Regions from separate parts of the Homo sapiens genome. Here regions 1, 2, 3, 4, 5 and 7 are each linked to region 6. Evidence: promoter capture Hi-C in 16 types of primary human blood cells and fetal thymus (Javierre and others, 2016). All regions are on one chromosome and are shown on one strand. Each heading gives the region's core, a stretch centred on a gene start or on the middle of the fragment in contact. The rest is flanking DNA. Distances are from core to core; before and after follow the strand shown. Region 1 has its middle 480 kb from the start of ST8SIA4. Region 2 overlaps FAM174A-DT (FAM174A divergent transcript). Region 3 overlaps FAM174A-DT (FAM174A divergent transcript). Region 4 overlaps LOC105379100 (a long non-coding RNA gene). Region 5 overlaps LOC105379100 (a long non-coding RNA gene). Region 6 holds the start of ST8SIA4 (ST8 alpha-N-acetyl-neuraminide alpha-2,8-sialyltransferase 4). Region 7 overlaps FAM174A-DT (FAM174A divergent transcript).

Region 1 (3,124 bases), core at 595-3,094, 480 kb after region 6:
ACAAACCTCACTCATTGGAATCTCAATTTTACCTGGTCAAGTCAACTTAAGCTATTACAAGTAAATTTCATCTACCAGCCTGATGTATATTTCTGAAAAGTTTTTAATTAAGCTCATCTGTTATGCTTCAGATCAAAAGAATTGTCATTGAAGATATATGAGTCCTGAAATGAGTTTCTCTTGAGTAGTTCTTGAGTATTTTGTAGGCTTGAATGCAGCGCAAATATATAGGGCTACTATCTGCTCAATAACAAAGAATGCTTAGGTCCTCCCAGATCATAGACCAAATATCTAACCTTTCCTAAAGTCATTTATTTCATTTCAACCTCCACTAAATCATAATTTGAGTTACAGCTATGTCTGCTCTTACCTGCTTACCAAAACTTTCTGACAATTCTAAGCCTTACAAGCTTCTCTCTATTCTTGTTTAAATTTATATTGCACATATTCTTATGACACACAATTTGGCAAACTTGATACTCTTTGTTTTCTGGATTGCTTCTTAGTATCTTGAAAACACTGCTTCTTTTGGGAACAGGAGCCATGACTTTGGTTTGTATGGTACCCTTAGAACTCTAGCATAGTGCTAGTATCTAAAAAAAAAAGAAAAAAAAACTTAATATAAGGTCTGACCATTTGATGGTAGAATAGTGATTAAAGAAATAGTGACTCAGTTTTTGGATCATGTTCCAAATATTATTTAAAACATTTAATTTGAGTAATTAAGTTATATATATTACCTTCTGACTATCATGTGAACCTCGTATTAAATTTCTACTTTTGTGAATAGTGCAGAAGAGGCTGTGGGAAAATGGGTTTGTGGTTAGTTGCTGTGAGAAAGGTTTATTATTTTCATATAATAAAATGCACTTTTCCAATGAACACAGACTTGAAAAACAACTTCCAAAAAAAATGTTTTCATGAAACTGTTTTATCCCCCAAGAGAAGCAATGTTCAACTAGAAACTCTTACGTCATACTTGGTCCCTATAGCTGCACTTCACCTAAATACATTTACTTGCCTCCTTCAGTTGGATAAAGCTGAACTCATAGTCTGAAGAAAACTGCATAATTTAAGTGTATAATTCTCTTTCAGCTTATATGTTGGCATTTCACATTACAAATATGAAAATGTTTTCAAGACACTTTTAAAAAGTATTCTTGATAGTTGAAAGAAACACACTGCCCACTTTCACTTATATGACTGCTCCCCAAAGTATTGTAGATGCATGCAGTTCTATAGTAAATTTAGGAAAAGTCAAGAGGCTAACTTGACTAATTTACTTGAATTTATATACTGATTTGGGGAGTCTGTGTATTATACATTTTAAGTAAGCTCTAATTTTAACTGTTCCATTTATAATATCTGGATTAAATATTTTTTGGCACATTTTTATTTAATGGATATTTTTCTAGCCAAGGTACATGAGGGTATGGTCTATACTTATGTTTCTACATATGTATCCTCTGTGCTTAAAAGTTACTTGCAAATAAAGGTGCTATTATATTTGTTAAAAAATAATGAACAGATAATAAAAAAGATATAATACATTTTCTATGGCTTGTACTTTACAAATTAGAATCTCTCAGAAAATGTTTAGTACCAGTCATGATAGACTAACAAATATTAGACATAGCCTCCCGCTGTAACTAACTACAACAGCTAGACAAAATATTGTTAACAATTCCTTGCAGGTATCAGCACACAACACAGGGAAGCATTCATTCTCCTTTGCTGTTTCCTTAAGGACATTTTCAAAACCATAATTCATGGAAACAGAGCCCAATCAGAGATTAGCATGTGGAAAAATATGTGTGCAGGGGTTACAGAAGTTATTGGGATTTGGAGGTAGAGTGCTGAGAATAAATATATAGGGAAGGAACATCGACAATCTGAATGAAAGCTCACTTTGAATCCTGGACCAACTTCTAAATTGTTAACACGCAAAGCATATCTCTGGAAGTCTTAGCAGAGAATAGTGCTGAGAGGCTAAAAGCAGAAAAATGCCTCAGAGTGTTGGGGAGACACTGAAGTTCCAACCCAATCAAAGTAGAGAAATCTCTGTGAACACTACTGGCTTTAAGATGAGACTCCAGAAAGACCATGCCCTGAGCATAAGGTTAACACCTTGAGATAACGTCTGTACCCTCCAATAAGAACAAAGCTCATATGGAACCACCCTAATGAAACCTAACACCAAGCCTATGACAGAAGCAGAATAAAGTACTAATAATCAGAAATGATCCAGGTTTGGAGTAAGTCAACAAGGGCCTTAAGATAACTATGAAAGAGTAAATGGTACATTAAAAATGGAGGAATGCAAAGGAGAGCATAACCCACTCAACCACCAACACCCCCCCACACACAATCAAACATTTAGAAATGTAATATGCAATATGTAAATTTAAGACCTCAATAGATGAATTTAACTGCAGCCTACACAGAGTAGGAAGTAGGATTAGTAATTTCTAAGACAGGCTAATAGAAAATATTCAATCAAATTTCTGCCAAAAAGCAGAAAAAGAGTAAAAATTTGAGGTAAAAATTTGAGGAAAAGATTTGAGTAAAAGATTTGAGTAAAAGAGTAAAAGATTTGAGGAAAGATAGGTAACATAGTTAAAATATCTAATATGTATGTCTAAAACTGAAAAATGTAAAGAAATTATGAAACGCATGCAGATTAAAATGGTATGTACAAGGACATTCATAGCAGCTTTACTCAAAATATCCCTAAACTGTGAAACATATAAGTTTATCTACATACAATGGATACACAAAATATGGAAAATTCATAAGTAGGAATACTATTAAGCTGTAGCAAAGAATAGACCACTGATACTCAAAACAATATTGTTTAATCTCAAAAACATTATCTTCAACAAAAGTAGTTAGACTCAAAAACTTGATATTTTATAATTTGGTTTACAAAAAGTTCAAAATCAGTATAAACTAATCTCTGTTTATGGAAGTTAGAACAATAGTTACTTCTGAGGAGTACTGACCGGGAAAGGGCACTAGGAAAATATCTAAGGGGATGTAAACATTTAGATTTTTATTTGAAGTATGTGACTTAAGTGTATTATACTTTTGTTTTTAAAATGCATATTATTAAAAAGTCTCTGTG
Region 2 (3,039 bases), core at 159-2,658, 410 kb before region 6:
GTCAAATCTTAAAGTTCCAAAATGATCTCTCTTGACTCCATGTCTCACGTCCAGATCACACTGATGCAAGAGGTGGGTTCCCATGGTCTTGGGCAGCTCTGCTCCTGTGGCTTTGCAGGGTACAGCCTCCTACCCAGCTGCTTGCATGGGCTAGCATTGAGTTCTGCAGCTTTTCCAGGCACACAGTGCAGGCTGCCAGTGAATCTACCATTCTGGGGTCTGGAGGAGGATGGTGGCCCTCTTCGCACAACTCCACTAGGCAGTGCTCCAGTAGGTACTCTGTGTGGGGGCTCTGACCCCATATTTCTCTTCTGCACTGCCCTAGGAGAGGTTCTCCATGAGAGCTCTGCCCCTACAGCAAACTTCTGCCAGGACATCAAGGCATTTCCATACATACTCTGAAATCTAGGTGGAGGTTCCCAAACCCCAGTTCTTGACTTCTGGTCACTGGCAGGCTCAACACCACGTGGAAGCTGCCAAGGCTTGAGGCTTGAATCTCCTAAAGCCACAGCCTGAGCTCTACATTGGCCCCTTTCAGCCACAGGTGGAGTAGCTGGGAGGCAGAGAGCCAAGTCTCTGGGTTGTATACAGCACAGGGACCCAGAGCCCAGCCCCTGGAACCATTTTTCCCTCCTGGGCCTCTGGGCCTGTGATGGGAGGGGCTACCATGAAGACCCCTGACATGGCTGGAAACATTTTCCCCATTGTCTTGGGGATTAACACTTGACTTCCCATTACTTATAGAATTTCTGCAGCTGGCTTGGATTCTCCTCAGAAAGCAGGATTTTTTCTATCACATTGTCAGGCTGGAAATTTTCTGAACTTTTATGCTCTGCTTCCCTTATAAAAATGAATGCCTTTAACAGCACCCAAGTAACCTCTTGAATGCTTTGCTGCTTAGAATTTTTTTCCACCAGATACCCTAGATCATCTCTGTCAAATTCAAAGTTCCACAAGTCTCTAGGACAGGGTGAAATGCCACCAGTCTTTTTGCTAAAACATAACAAGAGTCAGCTTTGCTCCAGTTCCCAACAAATTCCTCATCTCCATCTGAGACCACCTCAGCCTGTATTTCATTGTCCATATCATTATCAGCATATTGATCAAAGCCATTCAACAACTCTCTAGGAAGTTCCCATCTTTCCCACATTTTCCTGTCTTCTTCTGAGCCTTCCAAACTGTTCTAACCCCTGCCTGTTACCCAGTTCCAAAGTTGCTTCCCCATTTTTGGATATCTTTTCAGCAGTACTCCACTCCACTGGTACCAATTTACTGTATTAGTGCGTTTTCACACTGCTATTAAAGACATACATGAGACTGTAAAATGAGGCAATTTACAAAAGAAAGAGGTTTGATTGGACTCACAGTACCACGTGGCTGGAAAGGCCTCACAATCATGGTGGAAAGCAAGAAGAAGCAAGTCACATCTTACATGGGTGAGGGCAGGCAAAGAGAGAGCTTGTGCAGGGAAGCTCCACCTTATAAAGCCATCAAATCTCATGAGACTTATTCAGTATCGTGAGAACAGCACAAAAAAGACCTGCCCCCATGATTCAGTCACCTCCCACCAGGTCCCTTCCACAACATGTGAGAATTCAAGATGATATTTGGGTGGGTAAACAGCCAAACCATATCACTACCCATAGCAAACTATGGATTATCTGCATTCCCTATTAAAATTCCAATAGCATTGTTCACAGAAATACAAAAAAAATTCAAAAACTCACATAAAACCATGAAAGACTCCAAATAGCTAAAACAATCTTGAACAAGAAGAACAAAGCTAAAGGCACCACTCTTCCAGATTTTGAAATATATTACAAAACAATAATCAAAATAGAATTGTATAGGCATAAAAACAAACACACAGATCAATGAAAGATAACAAAATCCACACACATATAGTCATCTAATCCTGAAGTAAGGCAGCAAGAATGCACAATGAGGAAAATATAGTCTCTTCTATTAATGGTGCTGGAAAAACTAGATATCCATTCTAAAAACCATGAAATTGGACTTTTATCTAAACCTACACACAAAAATCAACTAAAAATGGGTTAAAGACAAAAACATAAGACCTGAGACTGAAAAAGTCCTAGAAGAAAGCATAGAGAAAACGTCCCATGACATTGGTCTGAAGAATTTTTTTTAAGTATGATAACCCAAAACACAGGCAATGAAAGCAAAAATAAACAATAAGGACATTAAAGTAATGCACATCAAAGGAAACAATCAACAAAATGAAAAGGCGACCTATGATATTGCAGAAATTATCTGTTCAACATATATCGAGGGGTTAATATTGAAAATATGTGAGGAACTTATACGACTCAGTAGCAAAAAATAACAATAAAGAAATAACTCAATTCTCAATTTTAAAACAGGCAAAAACCTAAATAGATATTTCTTAAAATAAGACATACAAATGGCAAACAGTTATGTGAAAAAGTGCTCAATATCACCAATCATCAGGGAAATGCACACTGAAACTACAGTGATATATTATCTCACACTTGTTAGATTGGCTATTAATCAAAAAGGCAAAAGATAACAAATGTTATAGAGGATACGGAGACAAGGGAACACATACATATACATTGTTGGTGGGAATTTAAGATGGTACAACCATTATGGAAAATGGTATGGAAATTCTTCAAAATATTAAAAATGGAATTACTATGTAATCCAGCAATCCAATTTTTGGGTATATGTTCAAAGGAAATAAGATGGCTATCTCAAAAAAATATCTGCACTATCATGTTTATTTGCATTATTGTTCATAACAGCCAATATATGGAAACAAGGGCCCATGAATGGATGAATGAATAAAGAAAATGCAGTAGATATACAACATTAAATTTCACTCTACCTTTTTAAAAAGGGAAAATATGTGACAACATAAATGAATTAGGATGACATTATGCTAAGTGAAATGAGCCAGACACAGTAAGACAAATAATGCAGTCTCATTTATAGATGGAAGTGATTTTATTTGTTTCATGATGTCTAGGATATATACTAGGTACTAAGGTTAGTAAG
Region 3 (2,994 bases), core at 79-2,578, 380 kb before region 6:
TAAGCTTCATAAAATCGCTGCTATTCCAGCCTCACAGGAGACAGTGAACCTACTCCAACACCTAGTACATCATTATTAAAACTAGCATCTGAGAAAGTCATTGCACATTGTTTCTCTACAACCAAGGAATTCATACAGTCTTTGCCACTGAAGGCACTCAGAGCCAAAGCTAGGTGAAAATAAACAATAAAGTCTCATCCTCAAGGGGAAAAAAAATAAGGATCAAAAAAAGCAGTCAAAAATAAATTCAAAAATAATTACACTAGTCTACACAAATGAAACAGAACCAGAAAAATAATTAAAATAATTCTGGAAATATGAAAAAAACAGTTATGTAACACTCCCCAAAGATCACACTAATTCTCCAGCAGTAGATTCAACCCAAGATGAAATCACTGAAATACCAGATAAAGAATTCAAAGGGTTGATTACTAATTTACTTAAGGAGATACAAGAGAAAGGTGAAAACCAACATAAAGAATCATTTTTTAAAAAACTAAGAATATAAATGAAAAAATTTTAAAGAGGTAGATATTTTAAAGAAAAATGTTTCATAACTTCTGAAAATGAAAGAAACATTTAGGGAACTAGAAAATGCAACTGAAAGTTTTAACATAGACAGACCAAGTATTGAATTTCACAGGTCAAAGAGAAGGCTCTTGAATTAACCTAATAAGAACAAAAAAAAGAATAAAAAAGAATTAGAATAAATGAACAAAGTCTCTGAGAAATATGCATTTTTGTAAAATGGCCAAACTTAATCATTATAGGTGTTTCTGAGGGAGAAAATAAAAGCAAAATGTTTGGAGAACTTCTAGAGGGAATAACTTAGGAAAATTTCTCTGGCGTTGCTATAGCTTTTGACTTCCAAATATAAAAAATTTAACTCCTGGGAGACTCATTGCAAAAAGACAACACCAAGGCATATAGTCACCAGGCTATCTAAAGTCAATGTGAAGGAAAGAATTCTAAGAGTAGTGAGACAAAAGCATCAGGTAACCTATAAAGGAAAAGCTCTCAGACTAATAGCAGACTTCTTAGTAGAAACCGTACAAGTTAGAAGAGATTGGGGTACTACCTTTAGTCTTCTTAAACAGAGTAACTGTCAGCCAAGAATTTTATATCCAGCAAAACTAAATTCCATAAATGAAGAAGACATAAAGTCTTTCTTTGACAAGCAAATGCTAAGGGAATGTGTCACTCAAGGATAGCCCTACAAAAAAATGCTAAAAGGAGTTCTAATTGTTGAAACAAAAGATTGATACCCACCAGAATAGAAACTCCTGAAAGCATAAAATTCACAGGACTTATAAAACAATAACACAATGCAAAAAACAAAGTCACTAGGTAACCATCAATACGATGACTGAAACAGTATCTCACATCTCAACATTAATGTTGAATATAAATGGTCTCTATAATCTACTTAAAAGATACATTGTCAGAATGAATTTTTTTTAAAAAATCACAAACCAAATATCTGCTGTCTTCAGGAGACCCACCTCACATGTAAGGATCCTTATAGAGTCAAAGTAAATGGAGGGGGGAAAGATATTTCATGCAGATAGAAACCACAACTGAGGAGGAGTAGCTATTCTTAGATAAAATTGATTTTAAAGCAATAGCAAAAAGAGACAACAAAGGGTAGAAGGCAGGACTAGCTTGCACCTCCCGCTTGGACAAACAGAGCAGCATGTCAGAGCCTCTGAGCTCAGACATGCCTATCCCTACCCCCACCTGGTGGTCTTTCTGTACTAGCCCTGGTAGCCAAAGACAATGGTCATAATCTCCTGGGAGCTCTACTGCACTGCCCACCACCTGGCAAACCTGAATACTTAACCAAGTGTACCTAGGGCAAGTTTGCATCCTCCCTATAGGACTGCAGCTGATGCACTCCTGAAAGCGCCACCTCCTGGCAGGAGCCCAATCAACACAAAACCAGCACACCAAACAAAAATACAACCAAGGACCCTCACAGAGTCCATTTCATTCCCCTGCTACATCCACTGGGGCATGTGCTGGTATTCATGGCTGCAAGACCTGAAGATGGATCACATCACAGGACTCTGCAGACACTCCCCAGTACCAACTTGGAGCCCAGTAGCTCCATTGGGTGACTAGGCCCAGAAGAGCAAAAATAATTATGACAGTTCAGCTCTCAGGAAGCCCCATTCCTAGGAGAGGGGAGAGAACACTACATAAAGGGTGCAGCCCATGGGGCAAAATAATCTAAACAGCAGCCCTTGAATCCCAGATCTTCCCTCTGACATAGTCTACCCAGATGAGAAGGAACCAGAGAAGCAATTCTGGTAGTATGACAAAACAAGGTTCTTTAACGCCCTCAAAAGATCATACCAGCTAACCGGCAACAGATCCAAACCAAGGCAAAAATCTCTGAATTGTCAGAAATAGAATTCAAAAGGTTGATTATTAAGCTAATCAAGGAGGCATCAGGGAAAAGTGAAGTCCAACTTAAATAAATCAAAAAGATGATACATGATATGAAAGGAAAGTTCTTCAGTGAGATTGATAGCATTAATAAAAAACAACCACAACTTCTGGAAATCAAGGACACAGAGAATTGGAAAATACACTGGAAAGTCTCAGTAATAGAATCAAACAAGTGGAAGAAAGAACTTCAGAGCTCAAAGACAAAGCTTTTGAATTAACCCAATCCATCAAAGACAAAGAAAAAAGAATAAAAAATGAACGAAGCCTCCAAGAAGTCTGGAACTATGTTAAAAGTCCAAACCTAAGAATAACTAGTGTTCCTGAGGAAGAAGAGAAACCTGAAAGTTTGGAAAACATATTTGAGGGAATTATCAAGGACAACTTCCCCAGCCTTGCTAGAGATCTAGACATCCAAATACAAGAAGCTCAAAGAACACCTGGTAAATTCATTGCAAAGAGATCATTGCCTAGGCACACAGTCATTAGGTTATCTAAAGTCAAGACAAAGGAAACAATATTAAGAGCTGTGAGGCAATAGCATCA
Region 4 (3,020 bases), core at 351-2,850, 460 kb before region 6:
TTTTGATTTGCATTTCTCTGATAGCCAGTGATGGTGAGCATTTTTGCAAGTGTTTTTTGACTGCATAAATGTCTTCTTTTGAGAAGTGTCTGTTCATATCCTTTGCCCACTTTTTGATGGGGTTGTTTGCTTTTTTCTTGTAAATTTCTTTGAGTTCATTGTAGATTCTGGATATTAGCCCTTTGTCAGATGAGTAGGTTGGAAAATTTTCTCCCATTTTGTGGGTTGCCTGTTCACTCTGATGGTAGTTTCTTTTGCTGTGCAGAAGCTCTTTACTTTAATTAGATCCCATTAGTCAATTTTGGCTTTTGTTGCCATTGCTTTTGGTGTTTTAGACATGAAGTCCTTGCCCATGCCTATGTCCTGAATGGTAATGCCTAGGTTTTCTTCTAGGGTTTTTATGGTTTTAGGTCTAATGTTTAAGTCTTTAATCCATCTTGAATTGATTTTTGTATAAGGTGTAAGGAAGGGATCCAGTTTCAGCTTTCTACATATTGCTAGCCAGTTTTCCCAGCACTATTTATTAAATAGGGAATCCTTTCCCCATTGCTTGTTTTTCTCAGGTTTGTCAAAGATCAGATAGCTGTAGATATGCGGCGTTATTTCTGAGGGCTCTGTTCTGTTCCATTGATCTATATCTCTGTTTTGGTACCAGTACCATGCTGTTTTGGTTACTGTAGCCTTCTAGTATAGTTTGACAGGGATGCCCTCTCTCACCACTCCTATTCAACATAGTGTTGGAAGTTCTGGCCAGGGCAATTAGGCAAGAGAAGGAAATAAAGGGTATTCAATTCGGAAAAGAGGAAGTCAAATTGTCCCTGTTTGCAGATGACATGATTGTATATCTAGAAAACCCCATTGTCTCAGCCCAAAATCTCCTTAAGCTGATAAGCAACTTCAGTAAAGTCTCAGGATACAAAATCAATGTACAAAAATCACAAGCATTCTTATACACCAATAATAGACAAACAGAGAGCCAAATCATGAGTGAACTCCCATTCACAATTGCTTCAAAGAGAATAAAATACCTAGGAATCCAACTTACAAGGGACGTGAAGGACCTCTTCAAGGAGAACTACAAACCACTGCTCAATGAAATAAAAGAGGATACAAACAAATGGAAGAACATTCCATGCTCATGGGTAGGAAGAATCAATATCGTGAAAATGGCCATACTGCCCAAGGTAATTTATAGATTCAATGCCATCTTCATCAAGCTACCAATGACTTTCTTCACAGAATTGGAAAAAACTACTTTAAAGTTCATATGGCACCAAAAAAGAGCCCGCATCGCCAAGTCAATCCTAAGCCAAAAGAACAAAGCTGAAGGCATCACGCTACCTGACTTCAAAAAGTACTATTATGCTAACCTTTAACTTGCATCACAGTAGAAGGTCCTAAATATATGTCTTCCCACTGAATTTCTTCTTGGTCCTTTGATGGAAAGGAGACAGCTTTGTAGTAGAAACTCCATGAGTTTGAATTAATTGGTATCTTTATGACCTCTAACACTGGTGCAATTTTTTTCCAATGACATAATGATACAAATAATAAATAAAATAACATGGAATTACATAAAATATTTAATGATATTACGAACATTTTACAAAGATCAATCAAAACTAGGAAAGATGTATTACCAAAATTTTAAATAGCTTGGATCTAAACAGAAGAGTATTCCTGACACCCAAATAGGAGCCCAGGAAAAATATAAAATTTAAATATTGAGCATTAAATATCAGATGAATTCCAAATGTCCAGTACAAAGATCAGGGTCTAATAGGGTGACTGCTTAAAAATACAATATTCAATTATATTAATACATATATTAAACCATTATTAGCCTTTTGCTGTCACAGGATGTTCTTAGCATGTCTAATACTGCAATATTCTTCATTATCTCATGCTTTTCTTGCTATCCAGTCTCATTTGTTTCCACTTTCCACTTTCTAATTCTAAGATTCTGCACTGAGCTTTTTTATGATACCTGAAGTTGCTCCGTTTTGCTTTTTCGGTTCTCTAGGTTACTGTTATGGTTTGGATATGTTTGTTTTACACAGCCCAGTCTCATGTTGAAATCTGATCCCCAATGTTGGGTGCAGGGCTTGGTGGGAGTGCTTGTATCATGGAGATGGATCTCTCATGAACGGCTTAATGACATTCCCAGTGGAGTTAGTAAGTTTTCACTTTTAGTTCCCAGGGGAACTGGTTATTGAAAAGAGTCTGGTACCTGGACCTTTCTAGCTTGCTTTCTGCCATCACCATATAGTGGGCTCCCCATATAGTGGGCTACACCTTCCACCATGACCGTAATGTTCCTGAGGCCCCTGCCAGAAGCAGATGTTGGTGTCAGGCTTCTTGTACAGCCTGCAAAACTGTAAGTCAAATAAACCGCTTTTCTTTATAAATTACCCAGCCTGAGTTATTAGTTTATAGCAACACATAAATTAAGACTGTCCCTATTTCTCTCCTTGGGATACTTGTCCCCATACCTTGCCTCTGTAATTATTACTCATCTTTCAGACCTTGAGATACATGTCACTTTCATATGTTCCTTGATTCTGAAGTCCATGGTAGACATCACTCCTGCATTTTTTTCTAATGATACTGTACTTTCCTTATCATTAGTGTATCATACCGTTAATTGTTGCTCTCCGCCATTTACCTGTAAGCTCTATAAATGCAGGGATCATGACGGTCTTGTTAAGTGTTACACCTAAGCATCTGCAACACTGAAGATAATCACTACATTTAAAATAATGCTGTTATAAAGAAATTTTCAAATTTTGTCTATGTGGTAACTTGGTATACATATTCCTTAAAGAAATGTTTTTGGAAAATCGTTCACATGCACTGCTGATGGAAATGTGAACTGTTTTGACCTTTTATGAAAGCAATATGGGGCAATATATATATGTACACACAAATGCACATATATTACTGTGTGTATATGTGTGTATATAGGCATATATGTATTTCTCAATGCAGTAAACCTATCTGCTAAAGTAAAGCTATGAGTA
Region 5 (3,103 bases), core at 65-2,564, 480 kb before region 6:
CAAGTGTTTTAAATTCTGAACATATTTAACAGGCTTCCTAAAATCAAACTTTAGTCTCAGGGTTGTCTTTCCTGACCCCTAGCTTTTGGGTGCTGCAGAGCACCCCTGGAGCATCTGGAAAAGAGGTAAACAGGATTATTTAACATGTTTAGGCACATGGAATTGCCAAAATGATGTTTAATACTCTTCAGGTTATATTCTAGGGAATAATATCAACATATGTTCCAAAATGGTCTGGGCTGTCTAAGGTTCTATTGTCTGAATATGTGCTATTAATCACAATTAAGGTTATTATGTTGGGTTATTGTAAGCCATGGAAATAACCAAATTTGTCAATCATGTTCTTGACTGTAACCACCCTGAACATTTTGTCATTTATAGACATTTGTCTTGTTTTAATTGTCTTCAAAAGATGGTTTATAATCAAGCTGTGGAACTTTAACAGGTGCTCTTCAATGCAGGTTTCTGATAACAGAAAAATGTACAGGACTCATAAAAAGCTAAAATGTTTAGGAATATCAAGCAGAACAAGAGTTAACAGAATGGAATGAACTAATAGAAAATTAAAGCAATATTCTTAATTTATGCTTGGAACACTGCTGATTATTATTTTGTTTTTCAAAGTCAAGGAAACTTTCTTAAAGGCTTTTAACAACTAAACAAGTTATACTCCTGTGAACGATATTTAAAACGTGTTTGTTTCTCTGTGCCTAGTTCCTCTAGAATTTGGAAACTAGTTGTAAGTATTCTTGAATTACAACAATATAGGTGTTTGCATCAGTACAACAAGTATCCATTTTCTTTTGCAACAAGATACAACTGGAGAAACTGTTCTGTGGAGGCTTTGAGTGGAAGGGTGTGCTTCCCTTTAAGGAATCAAGCTTGATTTGCAAAGCCAATAAAACCCCCTTAAGAAAACTGGCCTCCTACCTGTCTACACAGTCTCTGTACAAGATTACTGACCTGTGGTGAGCAAAAAAATGTCACTTTCTAACAGACCTAGGAACTCCATGCTTCTAAAATCTCAGGAAGAAAAAAGTTTATCCAACTCACAGTTATTTGTAGATACAAACCCATGGCTGGGCTTGGTTTTAAAAAGTCCGATCTGAAATTCCTTGTGGAACAGAGAGTTCCATCAAAGCCAATCAAAAAGGCCTATATAGAGGTGATTATTCTTGCTTCATTTTATGCAAATAATCAGGCCAAGTATACAACTAAAGTTTACTTTGCAAACAGCTAAGTCCTATCATAAGTTGTTTTTTAACAAAATGAGGACTAGAGAGACAGAAATTATGTTTCAAAATTTATCATACATCTGTCATTGGATTCAAGTCTCATTAGTCATTTTTAAATTCTTGTCTACATTTTAAACTAACCATGCTAATTCTTGTAATCCAACCACATCTCCAGCTGTGGCTCAAACAAAACAGAAAGTGATAGGTAATGTAAAAATCTCGAACAATGTTCTGGCTGGGCAATTATCCTATAAATCTTGCTAGGTAGCCTATAACCCCAAGGTTTTCTTTTTTTGGGAAAGTAAGATCAAGAAAGTTTAAAAAAGCCTAGCCCCATACACTCACTTAAAACAGCACAACCCATCTAAATGGCTTACAGGTATCAAATAAACTCTGTTGTCATGGTTATGGCCTATAGTGCCCCCACTAATAATGGTAGTCTTAATACTCATATTTTAACCCTATATTCTAAACCTCCTTGTAAAGTTTACTTCTTCTCACCTAGAAACCATCAAGCTTTAAATGGTGTGGCAAAAGGAGCTGAAAATTAAACTGACCTTCTACTGCATACCCTTAAATTGACCCAGGAGGAGCCCTAGCTGCTATTCCCATGCCACGCCCCTCTCCAGCAGGAAGTAGCCAGAGTAAGTCGACGCCCAATTCCCCGTAACAGCAGTTAGGAATTTCATTCCTGAGGGGGGTGTTTGTTATAGGAGATAAAAATAAATTATTTGGGTAGACAGAGTAAAGAGAGTCCCCGGCAGAATACTTTCCTTCTAACAAAAAGCAGCTCAGAAATGGCTCCCTTTCTAACCTTGTGAAGTTCAAAGAAATCATTTCTCTTCTAACAAAGAACAACCTGAAAGGCTGTAAAAACACAGATAAACGGCCGGGCGCGGTGGCTCACGCCTGTAATCCCAGCACTTTGGGAGGCCGAGACGGGCGGATCACGAGGTCAGGAGATCGAGACCATCCTGGCTAACACGGTGAAACCCCGTCTCTACTAAAAATACAAAAATTAGCCGGGCATGGTGGCGCGCGCCTGTAGTCCCAGCTACACGGGAGGCTGAGGCAGGAGAATGGCGTGAACCCGGGAGGCGGAGCTTGCAGTGAGTCGAGATCGCGCCACTGCACTCCAGCCTGGGCGACAGAGCGAAACTCCGCCTCAAAAAAAAAAAAAAAAAAAAAAAAAAACACAGATAAACAACTTGGGCACAGAAAGAGGTGGGGGAGTCTCCTCGGTAATCACCAAACTTCACATTCATAAAATGGGCCCTAGTAAAAACAATGGGCCTTAATAACCACATTCCTTTCCCTTTAAGCACACTAAGATAAGGAAGCTAAAAGCAGGGGGGCAGGGGAGGATCCCTGCAGCTGTGCAAGAAGATGAGAAGATGTCTGGAACAGACACAGAAACTCTCCCTCCCAGATAAGCAAAATAGAGCAGCAGAAACTAAGAGTCTACCTATGTAATCAAGGAATTGGGTGAGAGCTGATAGAAAACTCTGTGCTATGCACATAGCACACCTGATTCCAACTAAATCTTCAGGCCTTAGGAAGATAAGACACCCCTCCTCACTAGCCCATTTATAAAATCCCTGACTTTTTACTACAACTTGGAAACCCACTCAGGACCCCTCCCTGTGACAGAGAGCTGTTCTTTCCTTTTGCCTATTAAGCTCCTGCTCCAATCTCACTCTACGTGTGTGTGTGTGTCCATGACCTTGATTTCCTTGGCCATGAGACCAAGAACCCTGGTATTTACCCCAGACAACAAGGCTGCTTCAGTATGACTGAGAACTTCCAGGTGTTGGAGAAATGAAAAATTTGCTGGGTAAAAGTAATAAACCTGATCTCCAACATGTTAA
Region 6 (2,936 bases), core at 113-2,612:
AATATAAACTGGGCAGGCATCTCTGCTGGTGTGTAGTTTCTGATAGAGGACGCCTCCAAACCGGAACAGGGAGGATTTCCGAAACAGGACTTTGAATAGAGTTGACAATCAGGTTCACATCCTCAGAAAAAGCCTTCCAAGCTATGTCAGCAACACAAAGTTGCACCACCTCCTGGGTAAACTTCAAAGACACAGAGGCCAGCGGGTGGAAGGAAGTGTGATATTTAGAGAACTTAGTGGGGCGGGGGAGAGTCTGAACTCATCTAGACAAACTAAAAAAAATAGCAGAAATATAGTCTGTGTGAAGCTACAGTACCCAGTTTCTTTCTAAAACTGTAACCATGACGCCCATGCGTTTTAGCCGTAGAAGAACAAATAAGGAAGTATCCTTAGTGGTACTGGAGTTTCTAATTCAAATTATAACACATTAATCTATCCAACGTCAAATAGAAAAAAAAAAAGTAGAGAAACAGAGTATACCTATTTCCTGCTTTCTAAGCTTTAACTTCAGCCCTTCGAGAAACCATCTATCTCCAGTATCTCCTTAGGTGATAGGACATTGAAAACAGGCAACCGTTTGGTGAATAAAGACATTTCTCTTGAGTTCTGCCCACAGATTAAAAGGACAAGGACACACGTTCTTTGTTGACACTTCTGCAGTGACTTCTCCTTTGGCGAGAGAGCACCCAGGGCCAACACAACTGTCACCACAACCACACAGAGCAAGTTGAACTCATACTGGGAACAGCTTAGAGAAGCACGCACATCTCAACAACAGCCTTTGTTATTTAATTCATGACACTAACCACGCGCAAGCTCAAACAAACACACATGCTATCCTAACCATCACTCTACCCTCTATATTCACATTTCATTTATGGCTTGACTTTTTGTCATATCCTGAAATGAAGCTTTGCATTTACCCGATGAGTTGCGTCTCCTGGTGCTCCTCAGTTCTTGCTATTTCTTTTGTCTTATAAAAGATCAGGAGCAGACTTATTGTGCAGATCGTCCACCTCTTCCTAATGGAGCGCATCTTGGGTGCCCGAGAAAGTCCTGGTTGCCCCAGCTCCCGCACCTTCTCTTGATATAAAGGCTCCGTTTTGGGGAGATAGTCGCGGGGGTGAAATCTGTAAAATGCGAGGAGAGCTTGGAGCCGGGATCCCGGGATCAGATCACTGGGGTCTTCTGTGGCCGAGCTCCCTCTGGTCCTCGAACGCTGCCCAGCGACCTCTCGCCCTGTTTGCGCCAGCTCTGCCAGGGTCGCTCCGCGCCGCCTCCCTGGGGCTCAGGTTTCTTTTCAGATGAGACACCTTGTGCATTGGAGGTGGCGGCAGCTTCTGCAGCTGGGTTCGGGGGCGTCACTGGCCCTTCCCTCTTGCTAGGAGATAAACGCTGCGCAAAGCCAATCACCAGGCTGAGGGGGCGGAGGCTGCTTGGAGAGTAACGTCCCCGGCTCTGCCTGCTCTGTGCCGGGAGAGGAAGCTCACAGTGCTACGCGCCTGCGAGCTCGCGCACATACACATATACATACATACACACATACATACATATGCACACACACGTACACGCAGAATCACACACACTCTCCTGGGACATCAAAGCATCAGCTCTCTGGACCTGGGAGCTCCAAGATAGTCTATCCGCATCTAGGTGAGAGGGCACCTCGCCTGGGGACAGATTACAAAAGCGTCCCGCCAGAGGAATGCTTCAGGTAGAGCTAGGGGTGGATTGCAAGAAGAGTACCTTCTTTCAATCGCTTTTGCTAAACACACACCCTCACACGCAAAAACACGCCCTCCAAGGTGGAGTGAAACGGGGTGCGGGGGTGGGGACGGCGGTGGAAGGAAGAAGACTTTTATTACTCAATCTGGAAAGTGCAAATACACACATGAACCTGTTAGCCGATGGGCCCACTCTGCATGGGTGGTGGACGACGACCCTGGCTCAGGATTCTGCAGGAAACAAGTGATGATAGAGGTGTCATTAGGAACTTTATGGATATTTATGCGCCTCCCTTTCATTGCCATTTGGAAACTCCTCACGCAGAAGTCAAGGAAACTCCAATCCCACTTAAACTTCATTGCGGAGAAACAGAGTTCTGAAAAAAAAGCAGCTACCATGGACCTCTCTTTTAAACGCAAGTACACCCACACACATTCGGATACCAAGGAAGGAAGGAAAGAAAGAAAGGAAAGAAAAGGGAGGGGAGGAAGGAAGAGCAAAGTCCTCTCTAAAAGTCTCAATTATATATATAGCCTCTGATTGTCACCTCTCCTCCGTCCCACCATTTTTCGTACTTGTATTGGGTGGCAGGGACACTTTTCAAGAGTTCTGTGTTCGATTGTTCACTCTGAGTACCTCTCCACCATCCTCCAGTCGTTGCCCTCATTGGGAGAGATGCTTGCTACTCTGCTAGTACCACGCCTTGGTTCCGGTCTTTACTGTTGGCTGGTAGGTCGGGAGGCACCTCTAGCATGAGACAGTGTCTGGAAGCCAGGATTTCCCTCATCTATATGCGCCGGTCCCCAGCTCCCTGGTCGCCAGGGTTTCTCTCCAGTTGAATTCCGTGTTCCTTCAGGTTGAACAGTAGCTTCAGCGGTTTTTCACGCTCAGAAATGATGAGGCCCAATTCCAATCTTCCCTCCCGCCGGAAGTAAGAAGGGGAATTCTGAGTTGCTTGTCGCCTGACAGCTTAAAATAGCAACGAAAACAGCCAGCATCTTTGCTTAAAAACCCAAGGTTCCCGCCAGTGTTTACCATACTTCCTCTAGAGTTTAAGAAGTTAAGAACTTCCGAGATCTTGAATTTCCTCTTTGCAGCACAGCGAACGGGGTCGGGTATAAAAATGCTCCAAGGAGCAAGTAATTACGAACGTTTATTGACACTACAAGTGGCCCACAGGGAGCCTTTCGAGTTTATTGATGTCTAGGCAA
Region 7 (2,837 bases), core at 322-2,821, 440 kb before region 6:
GCAGAAGAAGGGAGCAAGACAGAGTCTTATAAAATGTAATGTAATCATGAGAATGACATCCAATTTGCCATAATCCATGTGTCACAGATGAGGACATTATAAAAGGCATGAATGCCAGAAAGTGGGAAATTTTGGGAGTCACCTCAAGGGTTTCTCTCCCACTGCAATTAGCAAAATAATACAGACATTTCCAGAATAAATAGAAGTAGATAAAGTAATAATTAGAAAGAAAGTGTTCACAATATAAAAAGTGCTAGCTAAACAGGTCCTATGATATAATGCTGTTCTGTCTACTTCTCTTTCAAATCATGCCACTGGCTTCCGTGAAATGGCCAATCATGGGTCACAGGTTGTACTGCTAAATTTAGGAGCTGATTTTATTTGTTTAGTCACTTGATTTGTAGATAAGAGAGTTAGATAGAAACAGACAGAAGAAGAGAGATAGACAAGCTTGCCTTCAGACTGCCATGTTGTGGTAGACTAGTGCAATAATTCCTGCTAATTTGTTCATGTCTCACTGCATGCCTATCCTTTTGGAAATTACCATCCTACATGGATTTTGTGCTTGGCCATATTAAATACAGCTTTCTTTGACCAATGGCACAGTAGCAAATATGTCACTTGCAGAGGCCTGAATGACAATTAAGCATCGACGCTTGCTTTCTCTCCATCTTGAAGTTTGTCACAACAACTTTAACAAGGCTGAACCAGCCTACTGGATATTAAGAGACCCATAGCCCACTTGCACGTATTGTTCCAGCCAGTAATCAATCCCTTAAAAGCAGATCTGCCTACTTAACCAGTAGCTGAATGCAGACGCAAGAGCAGATCCAGGTTAAATCATGAGAACCTTCCTGCTGAGCCCAACCAAAAATTGATCATACACAGAATCATGAGCTGAAAAACATGTTTAAATCAATTAGGTTTTGTGGTTGTTTGTTAAGCAGAAAAAGATGGCCAATAAACATACCTACAGATTATTGTATCTAATATGTATAGGCGTACATATATGTGTGTGTATGTATACATACACACATGTGCATATGCATAAAATCCAAGGTCCATAGATATTACTGAATATTGATTGTATATTACAAGGAAGCTAAAGAAAGTTGATATATCCTCATAAACACTCCCTGTATGACTAAAGTGTAACTTCCTTTTTTTCTTTCTTTTTTAGCAGCAAAATCACTGTTAGGAGTATGCCTAGCAAAGACTATTCCTGAACAAAAAAAAATTTTGAAATTGGTTTTTATAAATTATTTCCTCTTTTTGTCAAGAAAAGTATCTGCTGTTGCTTGATTACAGTGAACAAGTCTGTAATCAAATGAATTCTAAGAAGAATTACATTACTTCAGTCACTTTTAGTAACCAGGACATTACAGCTGCATTTACGGTTTATAAGAAAACAAAAATTCAATTAGTTATATTGTAGAAGGGAATACAGATGGAGATATTTTTGAAAGTTGCATACATCAAAGAAAGAAAAGTTGCTGGGTTTTTTTAATGAGAAAAGGAGCTAAAATGTCTTTCTGCACTCTGCTGGAAAAGAGTTTCTACTTTATTTCTTATATTGACTAACCAAAAGCAAAGAGGTTTGTGGAGCATTTTTGAAGGATGTTCTCAAAATAGAGAAGAGAATTTAGAAAGTTTTGCATATCATAAAAATATTGTTCTATGCCAGTTAACTGACTTTGGGATTTAAATAAATCTGGACTCATTAAATTTAATCTTTTATTGTTATTATTTTTAAAAATATTTCACTTTGTATTAATAATTTTAACTACTCTCTGTGTATTCATCAATAAAATATCTAGATGATAAGTGAAAAATTTAATGAATAGGACATTTAAATGGAAAAGCATATAAATATAATGATCCATATATAAATACCTAAAGATATTTTTTGTTCTAATAATATCAGCTCTCATATTTATTTAAAGATCAAAAAGGCATTGGAAACTATAAAGTGATTAAAATATCCCCTTCTTTTGAATAATCAACAAGTCCCAAAGTTCCTGTTTCCTGACTATTCCTTGAAGCTATTTTTCTTTTTCTTCTCAGGTCTCTGCCACTAAGTTAGTTCTGGTTCTCTTTGCATTTTGCCTGGATCACTGCACTGGCTGTTTAAATTGTCTCCTTTCTTCATCTCTTGTTGTTTTCTAATCTTTGAACATCACATTCTAGCAATATAAAATTACTAGTAGTTGGTTGAATGCACTATTTTGTCTCATTTGTCCATGCATATTTATGTATTAAAATGTCCTTATCATTCTCTGTATGAGTACCTATCATCTTCAAAAACATGGACTAGATATTTCCTCCAATTATATTAAATGGTCTCAATGACTTAATCATTTCTCATGTCTTCCACACGTGTTTACCATCCACATTTCTATGTTTGTATCTTGTGCAAAATTTTATTACAATGTTTAGTGTTCTACATCAAAATTATGTTATAATTTTTAAATCTTAAATAAATGTCCGTTGTATCTAATACATTATGTAGACTTTGTTTTTATATTTGTCAGTGCTCACAGAGACTCTATATTCTTTGAGAAAAAAATTGTTTTATGTATCTTTTTTCTTAATCTCTAGCACTTACAACAGTATCTACCTTTAAGAATATATTCAAAAAACTGTTACATGGCTTCTGAGAAAACAACAAATTAGCCATTTAACCTGAATATTTTGAAGCTTATGGATGAAGAATATTTTCATGATGGAAACAACATGAGGTAAATTAGCAGCAGAGATTCATCTGGAAGTATGATATATTGTTTAAAAAAACTTTTTAAAGTCATTTCTGTCCAAATATAAAACATTATGTGATTTAT

The links. The method cuts DNA at HindIII sites, captures the fragments that hold promoters and counts their contacts. A CHiCAGO score of 5 or more calls a contact.
Region 1: a contact is called between a fragment that was not itself captured here and the fragment with the promoter of ST8SIA4 in region 6, in 2 of 17 cell types (erythroblasts and megakaryocytes). The highest score is 6.2, in erythroblasts.
Region 2: a contact is called between a fragment that was not itself captured here and the fragment with the promoter of ST8SIA4 in region 6, in 1 of 17 cell types (fetal thymus). The highest score is 8.1, in fetal thymus.
Region 3: a contact is called between a fragment that was not itself captured here and the fragment with the promoter of ST8SIA4 in region 6, in 3 of 17 cell types (fetal thymus, neutrophils and total CD4 T cells). The highest score is 7.7, in fetal thymus.
Region 4: a contact is called between a fragment that was not itself captured here and the fragment with the promoter of ST8SIA4 in region 6, in 1 of 17 cell types (neutrophils). The highest score is 5.7, in neutrophils.
Region 5: a contact is called between a fragment that was not itself captured here and the fragment with the promoter of ST8SIA4 in region 6, in 1 of 17 cell types (M0 macrophages). The highest score is 5.8, in M0 macrophages.
Region 7: a contact is called between a fragment that was not itself captured here and the fragment with the promoter of ST8SIA4 in region 6, in 1 of 17 cell types (M1 macrophages). The highest score is 5.6, in M1 macrophages.

Annotation. Positions count from the first base shown.
Region 1 is chr5:101,385,315-101,388,438 of GRCh38, forward strand. No RefSeq gene overlaps it. Among named protein-coding and RNA genes, the nearest start is that of ST8SIA4, 480 kb to the left of the region's middle. The HindIII fragment of the contact is 2,872 bases long and covers 409-3,124 here.
Region 2 is chr5:100,488,273-100,491,311 of GRCh38, forward strand. All of the region lies in intron 3 of FAM174A-DT (FAM174A divergent transcript), which reads right to left. Among named protein-coding and RNA genes, the nearest start is that of FAM174A-DT, 45 kb to the right of the region's middle. The HindIII fragment of the contact is 6,152 bases long and covers 1-3,039 here.
Region 3 is chr5:100,518,659-100,521,652 of GRCh38, forward strand. The region is part of intron 2 of FAM174A-DT (FAM174A divergent transcript); the gene reads right to left. Among named protein-coding and RNA genes, the nearest start is that of FAM174A-DT, 15 kb to the right of the region's middle. The HindIII fragment of the contact is 2,653 bases long and covers 3-2,655 here.
Region 4 is chr5:100,438,749-100,441,768 of GRCh38, forward strand. The region is part of intron 7 of LOC105379100 (a long non-coding RNA gene); the gene reads left to right. Among named protein-coding and RNA genes, the nearest start is that of FAM174A-DT, 95 kb to the right of the region's middle. The HindIII fragment of the contact is 7,935 bases long and covers 1-3,020 here.
Region 5 is chr5:100,421,651-100,424,753 of GRCh38, forward strand. All of the region lies in intron 6 of LOC105379100 (a long non-coding RNA gene), which reads left to right. Among named protein-coding and RNA genes, the nearest start is that of FAM174A-DT, 110 kb to the right of the region's middle. The HindIII fragment of the contact is 870 bases long and covers 880-1,749 here.
Region 6 is chr5:100,901,920-100,904,855 of GRCh38, forward strand. ST8SIA4 (ST8 alpha-N-acetyl-neuraminide alpha-2,8-sialyltransferase 4) reads right to left here and starts at 1,363. Exons shown (of 5, transcript NM_005668.6): 1 at 924-1,363. The coding sequence starts at 1,036. It overlaps LOC107986437 (a long non-coding RNA gene), which reads left to right and starts at 1,489. Exons shown (of 2, transcript XR_001742825.3): 1 at 1,489-2,936. RefSeq lists enhancers at 451-1,020, 1,506-1,745, 2,526-2,765. The HindIII fragment of the contact is 2,860 bases long and covers 910-2,936 here.
Region 7 is chr5:100,464,735-100,467,571 of GRCh38, forward strand. All of the region lies in intron 3 of FAM174A-DT (FAM174A divergent transcript), which reads right to left. Among named protein-coding and RNA genes, the nearest start is that of FAM174A-DT, 69 kb to the right of the region's middle. The HindIII fragment of the contact is 2,247 bases long and covers 449-2,695 here.